Regions from separate parts of the Homo sapiens genome. Here region 1 is linked to region 2. Evidence: promoter capture Hi-C in human tissues and cell types (Jung and others, 2019). All regions are on one chromosome and are shown on one strand. The core of a region is centred on a gene start or on the middle of the fragment in contact, and the rest is flanking DNA. Distances in the headings are between cores, read along the strand shown.

Region 1 (3,752 bases), core at 217-2,716, 240 kb before region 2:
AAAAAACAAATAATAATAATAATAATCAACTGTATTTTATATACTGGCAATAAACACATGGACACTAAAATTTTAAATACAATATTTGTATTCACTCAAAAAATTGAAATATACAGAATGTATATATCAAAAACTACAAAACACAAAAGAAATAAAATAATATCCAAACATATGGGAAGATACATTATGTTCATGGATTGGAAGATTCAGCATGGTAAAAAAATGTCAATTTCCTCCAGGTTTAGTGCAATTCCTATCAGAATCCTAGCAAGATTTATTTTGTAGATATAGACAAGATTATTCTAAAATTTATATGGAAATGCAAAGGAACTAAAATAGCTAAAACAATTTTCAAAAAGAAAAGTGGGACGAATCAGTCTACCCAATTTTAATATTTATCACATAGCTAGTAATCAAGACTTTGTCATCTTGATGGAGGGATAAGCAGATCAGTGACACACAACAGAGAACCCAGAAATGAACCCACACAGATATGCCCAACTGTTAAAATGTATGTAACATAAAATTTGCCATTTTAACCAATTTCTTTTTTCTTTTTTGTTTTTCTTTCTTTTCTTTTCTTTTTTTCTTTTTTCTTTTTTTTTTTTGAGACGGAGTCTTGCTCTGTCGCCCAGGCTGGAGTGCATTGGCATGATCTCAGCTCTCTGCAAGCTCCGCCTCCCGGGTTCATGCCATTCTCCTGCCTCAGCCTCCCAAGTAACTGGGACTACAGGTACCCACCACCAGGCCTGGCTAATTTTTTGTATTTTTAGTAGAGACAGGGTTGTTTCACCATGTTAGCCAGGATGGTCTCTATCTTCTGACCTTGTGATCCGCCCGCTTCGGCCTCCCAAAGTGCTGGCATTACAGGCGTGAGCCACCTCGCCCGGCCAACCATTTCAAGTGTATAATTCAGGAGCATCAATTACGCTCACAATATTGTACATCCATCACTACTATTTCCAAAACTTTTTCAACACCTCAAACAGAAATTCTATACCCATTAAGTAATAACTCCAGCCTGGGAAACATGGTGAAACACCATCTCTATAAAAAAAAAATGCAAAAAGTAGCCAGGTGTGGTGGTGCACACCTGTAGCCCCAGCTACCTTGGAGGCTGGAGGTGGGAGGATCACCTGAGCCAGGGGAGTTCAATGCTGCAGTGAGCCACTTCCCTCCAGCCTGGGTGACAGAGTAGGACCCTGTCTCAAAAAAATGAAAAGTAAGATAAGATAAAAATTCCTAATTCCCTACCCTAATTCCCAACCTCTGTCTACTTTCTATCTCTACATATTTGCCTATTCTACAGATTTCACACAAATGGATTTATTTGTCCTTCAGTGTCTGGCTTATTTCACTTTACATGTTTTCAAGGCTCATTTATGTTGTAGCATGCGTCAGAACCTTATTCCTTTTTATGGCTGAATATGAATATGCATCACATTTTGTTTACTTATTCATCTGTTGATGGACAGTTGAGTTGTTTCCACCTTTTGACTATTGTGAATAGTGCTGTGACAAACATTAATGCGAGTATCTCTTTGAGTACCTGCTTTTGGTTCTTTGTGGGGTCTGTACCTAGGAGTGGAATCACTCAATCATATGGTGATTGTATGTTTACATTTTTGAGGAACTGTCAAACTGTTTTTCACAGCAGCTGCACTATTTTACATTCCCGCTGGCAATGTATGAGAGTTCTAATTTCTCCACATCCTTGCCAACACTTGTTATTCTTTTCTTTGTTGTTTTTGTTTGTTTCATTGTTTTCAGATGAGGTCTTGCTATGTTGCCCAGGCCGGCCTGGAACTCCTCGGCTCAACAGATCCTCCCATCTCAGCCTCCTGAGTAGCTGGGACTACAGACATGCACCACCTGCCCAGTTCAACACTTGTTATTTTCTGTTTTGCTGTTGTTATTTTCGTGATCCTAGTAGGTAAGAAATTGTATCTCTTGTGGTTTTGATTGCATTTCCCCAATGACTAATGATGTAGAGTTAATGAATGAATGAATGAATGCACAAAGGGACCTACTATTTTAATAAATCTTATGCTCAAAAGGGGATAAATCACTCTTCTAGTTTATATTATTATTATAATGTACAAGAACATTAATATTTGTTTTTATAATGATAAATCATAATAGCATTTGTATATAATGGTTTTGATTATACAAATACTCTTGTAATATGCAATATTGTTTATCCATACATCACAGTGACTATAGACTGTCTCTTTTAACAATATTCTAACTAATGTGTAGTGGTTTTGCCTTTATTTGTTTCTTGCCACACCCTAGGCTATACTCCCCCTTGGAAAATGAGCTGTGTCACAAAATGAATTAGAACCTTGTCAGCAAGGGGTTTCAGCTGAACAGACACAGGCAGCTTGTGCCTTCAGTATTCTCTGTATAAATTGGACTGCTTTTCCAGTTCATTAGCCCTAAAAGCAAACACTGAGAAAAGTGTGAATTCCTTTGGTCATAAAATATACATATAGGCCGGGCGCGGTGGCTCACACGTGTAATCCCAGCACTTTGAAAGGCCTAGGCGGATGGATCACCTGAGGTTGGGAGTTCGAGACTAGCCTGACCAACATGGAGAAACCCTGTCTCTACTAAAAATACAAAAAAAAAAAAAAAAATTAGCTGGGTGTGGTGGTACATGCCTGTAATCCCACCTACTTAGGAGGCTGAGGCAGAAGAATCACTTGAACCCAGGAGGTGGAGGTTGAGTTGAGCCAAGATCACACCACTGCACTCCAGCCTGGGCAAAAAGAGTGAAACTCTATCTCAAAAAAGAAATGTATCATACACATAAACTGCCTGGTCACGGTGCCTCACGCCTGTAATCCCAGCACTTTGGGAGGCCGAGGCAGGCGGTTCACTTCAGGTTAGGAGTTTGAGACCAGCCTGGCCAACATAGCGAAACCCCGTCTCTACTGACAAAAAAAAAAAAAAAAATTAGCCAGGCGTAGTGGTGCACGTCTGTAATCCCAGCTACTCGGGAGGCTGAGGCAGGAGAATCGCTTGAACCCAGGAGGCAGAGATTGCAGTGAGCCGAGATCGTGCCACGGCACTCCAGCCTGGGCAACAGAGTGAGACTCCATCTCAGGAAAAAAAAAATCATACACATAAACCATAGTGTAACAGAATATATTTTTAATTATTAACAATGTGAATTGTGATGACATACTGTATGTGTAATGTATCCCCTAGCAAGTACCTATGGTGCTATTTGTTCAACCACCACATCATAAACTCTCAACAAAGTAATATTTAAAAACTGTCTAAACCACACCCATGAAAGCTTAAAATTTCCCCCTCTAAAATAAAAGAAGTGAAAGTAGACTGTCATATGAACCTCAAAAGGCCATTTACAGCCTCAATGTTCCTCCATTTGTTCATAAGGGGAGGAGGTCTAGGGGAAGATATTACTCTATGTGGAGGTGGTGAGGAGAGTAATATCTTCCCCTAGACCTAGGGAAACCCTAGGATTTTTATACTAATCATGGCTGGGGCCAGAGGACATGCAAAATTAGACATTAACCCAGTCATTCTTCTACTCAGAAATTATGTCCTCTCTTCCAGGTCCAAGATGAATAGACATAAACCTATATATGATTAAACTGTTTGCATCATGTCAAGCAAATTGTTTCATTTTTTACACTTTTATTCTCAAAACTATTATTTTTCCCCCATATTAACTAATAGTTGACACACTGGGACACCTAGCACATAGCAGATCTCAATACTTA
Region 2 (3,818 bases), core at 1,273-3,772:
GAATGAGAATTTGGGTTGCTTCCAGAATTTGTCAACTATGAAATAGTGCCGCTATGAATACACACATTGTAGTACATGTGTTTTGGTGGGGATATGTGTTTCTGTTGAATGTGTATCTGGGAGAATTTCATTGTCGTAAGCCTTATGTTAACAGTGTTCCAATATATACTCCCAGGATATGAAAGTGCAATTGCTGGCTGGGCATGGTGGCTTGTGCCTGTAATCCCAGCACTTTGGGAAGCCGAGGTGGGCGGATCACCTGAGCTCAGGAGTTGGAGACCAGCCTGACCAACATGGTGAAATCCCATCTCTACTAAAAAATACAAAAATTAGCTGGGCGCAGTGGTAGGTGCCTGCAATCCCAGCTACTTGGGAGGCTGAGGCAGGAGAATTGTTTGAACCCAGGAGGCGGAGGTTGCAGTGAGCCAAGATCGCGCCAAAGCACCCCAGTCTAGGCGACAGAGCAAGACTCTGTCTCAAAAAAAAAAGCAATGCAACTGCTTCACATCTTTGTTAATTACCTATATAATAAGTGCAATAAGCACACAATAAATATCTGTTGAAAGGACTAATTTGAACACAGATGGCATTTAAAACTATGGGCTTGGATAAGACATCTTGGAAGAAATGTGATTAGGTAAGAGGGCTGATGAACAAAGCCTTGGGCAACTCCCACATTTGCAGAACTGGCAGGAGCATAAAGGAGGAAAATGGGAGAGCTTGGAGTTCTGCAAAACATGAGAAAAATGTGTTTCGAAGGGGCAGTCAACTGCTTTGAATGCTTCCAAGAGACCATAAGATAAGGCAGTGGTTTGGGAAAAGAGGATTCAGGAGTTCTGATCTTGGTCATTTCAAGCCTGAGTAGCTTATGCATTAATCACTCAAATGGACACCTCAAACGTGCAGCTGGATATAGGAGTGTAAAATCTGAGTCTAAGACAAGTATTTGTGAGTGTAAATATATTTCTGAAGGAGAGTATAGATGGGTAAGAGATTGGGTCCCAGTTTTGGGGCATTTCCATGTAGAAGTTGAAAAGAAGTAGATACCTACAGAGCAAAACTATGAGAGTGATGAGACAGAAGAGAAATCTGGAAAGTGTCTTGTCACTGAGGTAATGCCAACATCAACTGTGTTAAATGTTGCTGAGAATAGAAAAATGATCACTGAATTGACCAATTACCAATGAATAAATAATTACTCCAGTAAATAAATATACTTCCATATGATCATTTTGAATGGTTGCACAAAACTCTGTTGCGTGGCTCTACCAAAACCTGCTCAATCAGTTCCATTGTTGAATTTGTAGATTCTTCTCAAACCTTTAGAATCATAAATGATGTCACCTTGAGAATGTTCTAAGAGTATTGTGTCAAATACTCTAAGGGCATTTGGGTCAAAAAAATATGCACATTAGAAAGGTTTTAGGCCGGGCGCGGTGGCTCATGCCTGTAATCCCAGCACTTTGGGAGGCTGAGGTGGGCAGATCACATGAGGTCAAGAGTGGGAGACCAGCCTGGCCAACATGGTGAAATCCCATCCCTACTAAAAATACAAAACTTAGCCGGACGTGGTGGTGAGTCACTGTAATCCCAGCTACCTGGGAGGCTGAGGCAGGGAGAATTGCCTGAACCCGGGAGGCGGAGGTTGCAGTGAGCCAAGACTGCACCACTGCACTCCAGCCTGGGTGACAGAGTGAGACAGCCTCAAAAAAAAAAAAAAAAAAAAAAAGGTTTTGGACCTGGTGTGGTGGCTCATGCCTGTAATCCTATAATCCCAGCACTCTGGGAGGCCGAGGCGGGCGGATCACGAAGTCAGGAGATCGAGACCATCCTGGCTAACACGGTGAAACCCTGTCTCTAGTAAAAATACAAAACATTAGCTGGGCGTAGTGGCAGGCGCCTGTAGTCCCAGCTGCTCGGGAGGCTGAGGCAGGAGAGTGGCGTGAACCTGGGAGGTGGAGCTTGCAGTGAGCCGAAACTGCGCCACTGCACTCCAGCCTGGGTGACAGAGCGAGACTCTGTCTCAAAAAAAGAAAAACAAAACAAAACAAAACAAAGTACGGTGGTGGGTTGGTTTGAAGAATCTAAGAGGGCTATTTCTGGCATTTCCACTATTCCACCATGATTTCCTTGAGAGACTTGCTCTGTCGCCCAGGCCGGAGTGCAGTGGCGCGATCTTGGCTCACCGCAAGAGCTCTGCCTCCTGGGTTTCACCCCATTCTACTGCCTCAGCCTTCCGAGTAGCTGGGACTACAGGCACCCGCCACCATGCCCGGCTAATTTTTTGTATTTTTAGTAGAGACGGGGTTTCACCGTGTTAGCCAGGATGGTCTCGATCTCCTGACCTCGTGATCCGCCCGCCTAGGCTTCCCAAAGTGCTGGGATTACAGGCCTGAGCCACCGCGCCCGGCCTATTCCACCATGATCTCTACCCCTCCTCCCGAATGTTAGTGGTGTAACTATGACAACAAGCACGCGCTGCTCAAGGCTCAATTTTCCAGCCGTTACCGACCTCCACCGCGTCACTGTACGCTGCCCAGAAACTCTGAGGCGGATCCCCCAACCCAGTGTCAGACTGATCGCCTTTGGCCCGAGGGCGAGGAGCCACAGGACAGTATGGCCAAAGCGGCGGCCTCCTCGTCGCTGGAGGACTTGGACCTGAGCGGAGAGGAGGTCCAGCGGCTCACCTCCGCCTTCCAGGACCCGGAGTTCCGGCGAATGTTCTCCCAGTACGCCGAGGAGCTCACCGACCCGGAGAACCGGCGGCGCTACGAGGCGGAGATCACCGCGCTAGAGCGTGAGCGCGGGGTGGAAGTGCGGTTCGTGCACCCGGAGCCCGGCCATGTGCTGCGCACCAGCCTGGACGGGGCGCGGCGCTGCTTTGTGAATGTCTGCAGCAACGCGTTGGTGGGCGCGCCCAGCAGCCGGCCCGGCTCCGGTGGCGACCGGGGCGCAGCTCCTGGCAGCCACTGGTCCCTGCCCTACAGCCTGGCGCCCGGCCGCGAGTACGCGGGGCGCAGCAGCAGCCGCTACATGGTCTACGACGTGGTCTTCCATCCAGACGCGCTTGCGCTGGCCCGGCGGCACGAGGGCTTCCGCCAGATGCTGGACGCCACGGCCCTGGAGGCCGTCGAGAAGCAGTTCGGCGTGAAGCTGGACCGCAGGAATGCCAAGACCCTGAAGGCCAAGTATAAGGGGACCCCAGAGGCTGCGGTGCTGCGCACGCCCCTGCCCGGGGTCATCCCCGCAAGGCCTGACGGGGAGCCGAAGGGTCCTCTCCCGGACTTCCCCTACCCTTACCAGTACCCGGCAGCCCCCGGGCCCCGGGCGCCCTCCCCTCCGGAAGCGGCCTTGCAGCCCGCCCCCACCGAGCCTCGCTACAGCGTGGTGCAGCGCCACCACGTGGACCTCCAGGATTACCGCTGCTCCAGGGACTCAGCCCCGAGCCCCGTGCCCCATGAGCTGGTGATCACCATCGAACTGCCGCTGTTGCGCTCGGCCGAGCAGGCGGCGCTGGAGGTAACGAGAAAGCTGCTGTGCCTCGACTCGAGGAAACCTGACTACCGGCTGCGGCTCTCGCTCCCGTACCCAGTGGACGATGGCCGCGGCAAGGCACAATTCAACAAGGCCCGGCGGCAGCTGGTGGTTACGCTGCCAGTGGTGCTGCCGGCCGCGCGCCGGGAGCCCGCTGTCGCCGTCGCCGCCGCCGCGCCGGAAGAGTCCGCGGACCGGTCCGGAACTGACGGCCAGGCCTGCGCTTCCGCTCGCGAGGGGGAGGCGGGACCCGCGAGGAGTCGCGCGGAGGACGGAGGCCACGA

What was found. Contacts are between HindIII fragments. The study calls those that stand out against the background at their distance.
Region 1: a contact is called between a fragment that was not itself captured here and the fragment with the promoter of DNAAF2 in region 2, in 1 of the 25 tissues and cell types used here (hippocampus).

The regions. Positions count from the first base shown.
Region 1 is chr14:49,869,742-49,873,493 of GRCh38, reverse strand. No RefSeq gene overlaps it. Among named protein-coding and RNA genes, the nearest start is that of NEMF, 19 kb to the right of the region's middle. The HindIII fragment of the contact is 9,165 bases long and covers 1-3,752 here.
Region 2 is chr14:49,633,948-49,637,765 of GRCh38, reverse strand. It overlaps DNAAF2 (dynein axonemal assembly factor 2), which reads left to right and starts at 2,522. Exons shown (of 3, transcript NM_018139.3): 1 at 2,522-3,818. The coding sequence starts at 2,617. RefSeq lists silencers at 2,901-2,950, 3,181-3,420, 3,691-3,818 and enhancers at 2,878-3,638, 3,451-3,690. The HindIII fragment of the contact is 16,157 bases long and covers 1-3,818 here.